Regions from separate parts of the Homo sapiens genome. Here all the other regions are linked to region 2. The links are contacts of gene promoters, found by promoter capture Hi-C in human tissues and cell types (Jung and others, 2019). All regions are on one chromosome and are shown on one strand. The core of a region is centred on a gene start or on the middle of the fragment in contact, and the rest is flanking DNA. Distances in the headings are between cores, read along the strand shown. Region 1 overlaps PLD5 (phospholipase D family member 5). Region 2 holds the start of PLD5 (phospholipase D family member 5). Region 3 has its middle 37 kb from the start of PLD5.

Region 1 (2,782 bases), core at 67-2,566, 34 kb after region 2:
CATGATATGATTTAAATATTTAAAGTATTTAGATATAATATACGTGTTTACTATTTTTTGTTTTTCTACTGTCTTATGGAATTGAATTTTGAGTTCAGTGTAGCTGGACTATATCCACTGTGTTTGCCTTGTAAAGGGTTGACAGTGGTGTTTTCTAAGGCATCTATGTAATTGTGTGTTTATGTGTGTGTGTGCGCACATGCACACGTTTCTTCATGTATCTATTATACATATCTCTGTATCTAAATGTCTATCTATATATAAGTAATATGGAAAAGAGGAAGTTTTTTCAATGTTCTCTTCTAGAATTATGATCAACAACTCAGGAAAATACTCAACTTGAAAGAGATTAGTGAATGTGGACTCGAAAGGTCTAAGACAGAGAAAGAAGTTGCTGTAGGTAAGTATACTGAACTCAGAATATGAAAATGAACGAATATTAAAGCTGGAGAAGATGCCAAGAAATTCTAAGAATACAAGATTAGCAGTGGGAATTAGAAATATAATTTAGATCAGTTGAGCCTGAAGAATAACTTAGTGAAGATCAAGGGAATAAAATGTGTCTGAAAGGAGGAGACTGTCATGTCCCAAAGGTATATGTGGGGGGAAACATCAAAGCCTGGTGTGCAAGAAGCTCCTGCTAAGCCTTGTTATTCAAAATGTGCTTTACAAAGAGGAAGCAGGAAGGAGCATCACCACGGATTTTATTAGGAATGCAAAACCTAAGGCGCTCCTCCAAATTTTCGGAACCCCAGGGTCTACTGTTGCCAAGGCTTCAGGGAGCATCACAGTCTGAGAAGCATTAGGGTATGACGTAGCGGTAGGTTTTCTCTACACAGTATTAAAGAGATATTGAAATCCTCAAGATTAAAAAAGAGATGAACATTGAGGAATTCTGTAATGCAGATGTGGGTTCTACACAAAGGTTGCTGAGAACCGAGGCATTGCCATGTAGCCCCAATATTCAGTGTTTTAGAAATCAAGTTTATATAATAAATGAACGTTTTGATGCAGCAAATGAGGAACCTAGACATTCAGTGAAGAGAATTAAAAATATATGTTATTAAGAAAATGTGTAACTGAACAAAACCGAAGAGGGCCAAAAATTAGTAATCCTGTGTTCGAGGTATAGTTTTGAAAGTTTATATTTAAGAGAAAGACTGAAAGAAAATTTGTATGTGCACACATAATTACAATACAATTAAAAAATGGTATTTGGTTTATTTTAGAACACTTTTGCAAAACAGTGGTCTCCAAAGAGCCATGAAACAGCTTGCTGATTTTTGAATTTCTGGGTTTATTACAAATGACTACATAAAAGCCGTGTGGTAAGAAACGAACTTCTGGTAACAGATGGTGGAAAATCACCAGTAAGACCCAAACCTAACAGAGACTGCTTCTGGAGCCATGGTTCTCACTAAGGGTTATTAGCATCATTCTTTGATGATGGGCATTGAGGCATCAGAACTCATGGATATCACAGTTCCTGTGTGGAGAGGAAGCTTCAGATGGTGCTCTTGCACAGACGGGACTGCCATTCCCATTTTAGTGGATCTCTTAAAAGTTCGAATGGCTCCTCTAATGCCTGATGTGAATGGAACCTTTCTCTCTGCTTCAGTCAAGAATCTGGTGACAAAGAAGCTTCATCCTTTCAATCTTACAATTTCAATCTCCTATCTCAAGAAAGCTCATTTCTATGTATTACCAGTGCATCCTCCACATGCTCTTCTGCAGTTGTTCCTTCTGCGGGAAATGATCTCTCCTTTTGTCGAGGCTTGGTGAAATCCTTTGAAATTCTGTTGATTCTGTAAGAGCCAACACAAATACCAACTGCCCTGAATACTTTCTGGCTAAACTGCCACAATGAACGAGGATTCCTCACCCATGTCCCTCCCTTTCCCTTCCTTTCTTTTTATAATGGTATGCTTATTGTTTTTTAATGTAACATTTTTCTTACAAAAGGAATACACATTCAGTGTTAAAATGGAAATGTAGAAAAGTCTTCAGAAGAAAATAAAAATCACCTGCAAATCCATTTCCTGAAGTAATTATTTTTGCTAATGTTTTATTACAATATAGCTCATCCTCTTTCGCTGCCTCTTCCTCTTCTCTCTCCCTTCCTCCCTCCTTCCTGTCCTTCCTCTGTCTCTCCTTCCCTTTTTCTCTCTCTCTCTGGTTGCAGCATCTCTGTTTTTTCTCTGTTTTTTTTTTTAATCAAATGTATCGAGGTGTGACTTACATTCAATAAAATGCACAGTTAGATGAATTTTGAAAAATGTCATAATTCATATTACCAACATCTCAATCAAGATATATAATGCCTCCATCACCCCAAAAAGGGACGGATGATGGACTCACTCATGCTCCTCTGAAAAAAACCCTTTCCCAGCTCTCTGCCACTGATCTGGTTTCTGTCACTGGAGATGAGTTTTGCCTATACTAGGGCTTTGAATAAATAGGATCACAGAGCATGTACTCATTTGTGTCTGGCTTCTTTCACTCATTATCATATTTTTGAAATAGATCCATATTGGTGCAGATGTCAATAGTTCATTCCTTTGGTTTCTTACAGAGATTTACTTCCTCAAATATTTGCTTGATTTCACATTCTTGTTGCTACTATTACTAGAATTCATTTTCAAGTTTTAATCATCAGTACTATAATTTTAAAAAAGAGTCTTTACTTTTAGACGAGTTTTATGTTTACAGAAAAATTGAACAGAAAGTACAGAAAGTTCCCAAATACTCCCTCATCCCTTCCCTGACAGCTTCCCTTATCATT
Region 2 (2,700 bases), core at 17-2,516:
TAGTTCAGCTCCTAAGAAAACCAACCTAGCACAACCAAAATGTGTGTATTTGTGTTTAGTTGTTTCATCCCCATATTGAATGTGCACAGGATTTTATTTCAACTACTATTTTTACTATACCATTTTTTTAAATGGAGACTTTGAAAAGATATGAAACACAATCCCTGTCCTCCTAAAAGTTTGTGAAATCCCAGCCAGAATGTCTTTGAAACCGTCATTCAAGTAGGGCAGTTCTGCCGAGGGCTAGAGAGCCTTCAGTTTACCCTTGGCAACACCCTCTAAAATCCCCTGTATACCTCTCCAGCTTCCATACACTTCCCAAGCTTTTAACCAGACACGAGACACCCTGAACACCAGCTGTTTAGCATTTAGATAAAACCAAAAAATGTTTCGAGAGGTTGACTCCAAAGATAGCAAAAGATGAAGAGATTGAAGATTTAATCGCGAACAAGCCACCCTATTCCTAATAATCATCACGCTTGGCTGGGCCCCGAAGGAAAAGCCTGGACCCTAGGGGCCTAGAAACAGAGAAAAGAAACAAATGCACAGCAGTTGGGCCACGTCCACCTAAGGAACAGTCACCGCACAAGCGGAGCGTTGCAGAGGAGCCCTGGATCACCCTCCCAGGATCGGAATGGGTGCGGCCCGGGGAGCCCGGTTCTAGGTGGACACCGAGGGCTGGGGAGCAACCGGTCCCGCGTGCCTGCCCGAGGGGCTACTGCCCCCGGGCGTATTTGCATCGCCACACCATCGGATGAAAGTAGCGTGTACGGCTCCAGAAAACACATGTCTCTCGGCTATTTTCAGGGGGGAATGCTGGGCACCCTCTGCTCTAAGTCCCTTGGGGTGGGAAGTTAGTGAACTTTCAGAATGGGGGAAGGCGCAGCCCAAGCGAGCCGGGGGCAGGGTGAGGGGGCGCCGCTGGATAGAGATGGGGGAAGGGCGGAGGTGGTTTCCTGAGTGTCTCCCTCCGGAGCCATCCCCGCGCTCAGCCAGCAGGACCGAGGAGGCGCGGAGACGGCGCTCACTTCTCCCCTCGCCTGCCGGCTTTCCAGTAAAGATGCGCCAGGGAGAGGTGTAGCCTGCTCGGGAAAGGCGGGTGCGGAGCGGGAGCGCGGCCGCCCGGGCCTGGGCGCGGCGGGAGGGGCGGCGGCGGCTCCTCACTGCACCAACCTGCAGGCGCGGGCTGGCTGGGCCAGCCGCGGCCCCTCCCACCGCACCCCACCCCCGCCGCCGCCGCCGCCCCGGGAGCCGGCCCGGGTCCCAGTAGGTGCCGCAAGGAGCCGGCGAGCGGAGCGCCCGCTCGGGACCGCAGCCGCCGGGCGACGTCGCCGCCGCACCGGGCACTTCTGTCTCCCCGGAGCAGGTTCCTTTCCCTCCCTGTCCCCTCTCGTCCCCCTTCTCCCCGTCCGTCCCCCTCCGCCCCCGCCCCCGCCCCCGCCCGCACCTCGCCCTCCCTCCTTCCGCCCCGCGCCTCCCGCGATCGCCCCCTCCCGCCCGGCCGCGCTCCCAGCTGGCGCTCAGCACCCCGCGCTCCCCGCGCCCGCTCGCTCCTCCAGCTCCTCCAGCTCAGTCTCCAGCTCCACCTCCGGCTCCCGCTGGGCCTCCCGCTCGCCCTCCGCGCCCGGCTCCCCGCGCGCCCGTCCCGAGTCCGCTGCTCGCCGGCGGCCGCCCGGTCATGTCAGGATGGAGATCCGGCAGCACGAGTGGCTCTCGGCCTCCCCCCATGAGGGCTTCGAGCAGATGAGGCTCAAAAGCCGCCCCAAGGAGCCCTCCCCAAGCCTGACCCGAGTGGGCGCGAACTTCTACAGCAGCGTCAAGCAGCAGGACTACAGCGCCAGCGTCTGGCTTCGGAGGAAAGACAAGCTGGAGCACGTAAGGGCGACTCGCTCCCGGGGGCCTCGGCCAGGCACCTGCCGCATGCACCCTCCCCGTGGTGGTGGCATGAGCGCGCGCGGGGCGCGGGGGGCAGGCGAGGGGATCCTGGCAGGCGCCGACGTCCTAGGTCGGATTCGGGGGCTTCTCTGCCTGCAGTTTCTTGCCTTAATGACCGGGCTGCGGGGAGGGGAGGGCAGGTTCCCTTTCAGGCTCTTGGTCCCTGCCGACCCGACCTGCCCACCTGCGTCTCCCGGTAGGGTTCATTTGCACGGGGTTCTGGAGGTGCCTGTGCAGAGTGAGCACGAAGGGGAAGTGCCACCAGCGTGGCTCCGAGCAACCTGGCGTTGCATGGTAGTGGGCTTTAGAGCGGCGTTTGCCCGCGTCTTTGGGGGCTGTTTTACTCAGTCCAAAAACTAGCAAATTAACGAATGAGTAAAGTTGGCGCCGCTAGCGACCAGCGTGGACCCGCGCACAAGCCATTAGAGTTTTTTGCAGAGTGTCCGCTGGGATGAGCAGTTGGTGATCCTCTCTACTTGAGCCCAACTAGGGAGAGATTTGCGCGTTGCAAGGAGAAAGGCTAAAAGCGAGCGGATCGTCGGGCTCCCCAGAAATCCTCCCCTCTGGAGGGTGGGAGCCGGTGAGAGGGGACCTCTACTCCCAAGGAGTGCCGACTTCACGCGAAGTGAATTGGCTCTGGAGTTGAGCTCCTAAGGCTTGCTATTTTGAAAGAAAAAAAAAAAACCTTCTAAAAAGGCGTTTAGTGGATCCACAGTTTCAAATTTGATCCATCAGCATCTTCTTAAACCAAATGTTAAAATTAAA
Region 3 (2,700 bases), core at 91-2,590, 37 kb before region 2:
CAATATTAACAATCACCAACTCTTTATATTAATTACGGTGTTTGTGGCAAGATTTATTTTTTAGGCTCCCTCGTTTCATACATTTAGTCTCATTAAATCCTCAGTACAATCTTGTGAAGAAAGCAGGAGTTATTTTTTCCATCTAGTAAGTGTTGATTGTAGGAACGATGGACGATGGACTCCAAAACCAGCACCCCAGGCCCCACTCACTGTCTCTCATGTCAAGCCAGCATCTGTACTATAATCCCTGCCTCCTCTCCTGTTACTTTGGGTGAATTGTGTTTCTGTCTAAAACCAGCCCTTCCATCTGGGCGCTAGATCCCTTCTTTCTCACCTTTTCAAGTACGTCATTCCAACTAATCTTCTCTCTTTCTTCTGCACCATTGATTTTCTCCTCTGTACCTGGGCACTGTATCAGCATACAAATACGCTGCTACATATGGAAGCTTTAAACAATCCTCACTAGGCCCCCTGTCATGTTCTAGCTGCTTCCTCACTTTCTTTCTCCATGACACTTCAACAATTGATACTCATTGACTCTAATTCCTTATTGCCTAATGCTTCCTTCTTAAATATTTTTAAAAGGCATTTAACATAAAGACAAATGTTTTGTCTAATGTATCTAGCAATATAGTCCAGGCAGTATACAGAACATTTTCATCATCCTCCAAAAATTTTCTTATGTTCCTCTCCATTTAATTTCTTCTCCACTAGAGGCAATTGAGGTTCTGATTTCCATCATCGTAGATTTGTTCCACCTATTATTGAATTTTATACATGAGAAATTACACAGTATGGGTTCTGTTGTGTCTGGCTTCTTTGTCCAACACAGTGTGTTTGAGATTCATCCACATTGCTCATGCATCCGTAGTATGTAACAGTTTTATTGCCAAGTATTTTCTCATTAATGATTATTAAAATCCATTCTGCTATTGATGGACATTTTGGTTTCTTTCCAGTTTTTCACTGTTGTGAATAAAGCTTCTATGAACATTTGTGTATAGATCTTTTTGTGGACATATATGTTTTTCATTTCTCCACGATAAATATATTTAGGAGTGGAATTGTCTAATCAGAGGTATGTTTAACTCTATCAGAAACTGCCAGCTGGGTGTGGTGGCTCACACCTGTAATCCCAGCACTTTGGGAGGCAGAGGTGGGAGGACTGTTTGAGGCCAGGGTTCAGGAGAAGCCTGGTCAACATAGCGAGACCCCCATCTCTATTTTAGAAGATAAAAAAAATTAAAAGGAAACTGCCAACTCATTTTCCAAAGTGGTCATACCATTTTACATGCCCATCAGAAATACATACATTCGCAATTAATATCCTTTGTTTGTTTTTTAACAAATTTTGTGTTGTGTGGGCATGAAATAATATCTAATTATTGTATCAATCTGCATATACCTGATGTCTAAAGATATTGAGCATCTTCTCATGGGCTTACTGGCCATTTGTATGTTTCCTTTGTGAAATATCTTTAAATCTTTTGCTGATTAAAAAATATCAAGTTGTTTGTCTTATTGAATTATAAGTTATATTAGGTTTCCATTGATGTATGACACATTACCAAGGTCTTAGCAGTTTAAACAAGGTGCATTAATTTTTATTTTTTTGAGACAGTCTCACTCTGTCGCCCAAGGCTGGAGTACAGTAGCATGATCTCAGCTCACTGCAACCTCCACCTCCAAGGTTCATGTGATTCTCCTGCCCCAGACTCCCAAGTAGCTAGAACTACAGGCACATGCCACCACGCCCGACTAATTTTTGTATTTTTCATAGAAATGGGGTTTCACCATGTTGGCCAGGATGGCCTTGAACTCCTGGCCTCAAGTGATCCGCCTACCTCTGCCTCCCAGAGTGCTGGGGTTACAGGCATGAGCCACTGTGCCTGGCCCACAAGGTGCATTTATTATCTCATAGTTTCTGTGCATCTGGAGCCTGAGCATGATGGCTGAGCTGGGTTCTCGGCTCAGAGTGCCACAAGGCTGCAATCAAGGTGATGGCAGGGACTGGTTTTGTATCTGGAGCTCAGTGTCCTCTTCCAAGTTCATTCAGGCTGCTGGCAGAATTCAGTTCCTTGTGGTTGTAGGACTGAGAACCTCAGCTCCCAGAGGCCAGCCCTCTGTACAGATAGTTATGACATGACAGCTTGCATCTTCAAGGCCAGGAGGAGAGAGAGGATCTCTCCTGTTTTGAATCTCTTTTAAGAAGCTTACCACTCAAGGCAATCTTCCTTTTGATTAAAGTCAGCTGATTTTTGGCTTTAATTAAATCTGCAAAATCCTTTCATTTTGCCATGTACTGTAACATAACCACAGGAGTGGCATGCATCATATTCACATGTATAATTTCCTCCCCTTGGGTCTACCACACTCATATATGCCCATAGAAGGGCATATACACCTGGGGGCTGGAATCCTGGGGAACATGTTAGAATATCATATAAGAGATTCTTTTACACACACACACACACACCCTGAATTTAAGTCCTTTGCCAGATATGTCTTGCAAGTATTTCTCCCTGACTCTAGTTTCAGTACTTATTTGCTTAATGGTGCCTTTTGATGAGCATACGTTTTACATTTTAATATACAGCAATTTATCAAACATTTTTCTTCTATAGTTAGTGATTTTTATCGCTTAGAAATATTTACTTTCCCATGTATTGTAAAGATATTCTGGTTTTTTTTTTTTCTAGA

The links. Contacts are between HindIII fragments. The study calls those that stand out against the background at their distance.
Region 1: a fragment that was not itself captured here is called in contact with the fragment with the promoter of PLD5 in region 2 in 4 of the 25 tissues and cell types used here (mesendoderm cells, ovary, small bowel and 1 more).
Region 3: a fragment that was not itself captured here is called in contact with the fragment with the promoter of PLD5 in region 2 in 10 of the 25 tissues and cell types used here (H1 embryonic stem cells, bladder, dorsolateral prefrontal cortex and 7 more).

The regions. Positions count from the first base shown.
Region 1 is chr1:242,488,806-242,491,587 of GRCh38, reverse strand. The region is part of intron 1 of PLD5 (phospholipase D family member 5); the gene reads left to right. It overlaps LOC105373234 (a long non-coding RNA gene), which reads left to right. Exons shown (of 3, transcript XR_949328.2): 2 at 307-400; 3 at 1,230-2,035. Among named protein-coding and RNA genes, the nearest start is that of PLD5, 34 kb to the left of the region's middle. The HindIII fragment of the contact is 5,746 bases long and covers 1-2,782 here.
Region 2 is chr1:242,523,263-242,525,962 of GRCh38, reverse strand. PLD5 (phospholipase D family member 5) reads left to right here and starts at 1,266. Exons shown (of 10, transcript NM_001372062.1): 1 at 1,266-1,875. The coding sequence starts at 1,687. The HindIII fragment of the contact is 9,545 bases long and covers 1-2,700 here.
Region 3 is chr1:242,560,676-242,563,375 of GRCh38, reverse strand. No RefSeq gene overlaps it. Among named protein-coding and RNA genes, the nearest start is that of PLD5, 37 kb to the right of the region's middle. The HindIII fragment of the contact is 4,065 bases long and covers 1-2,700 here.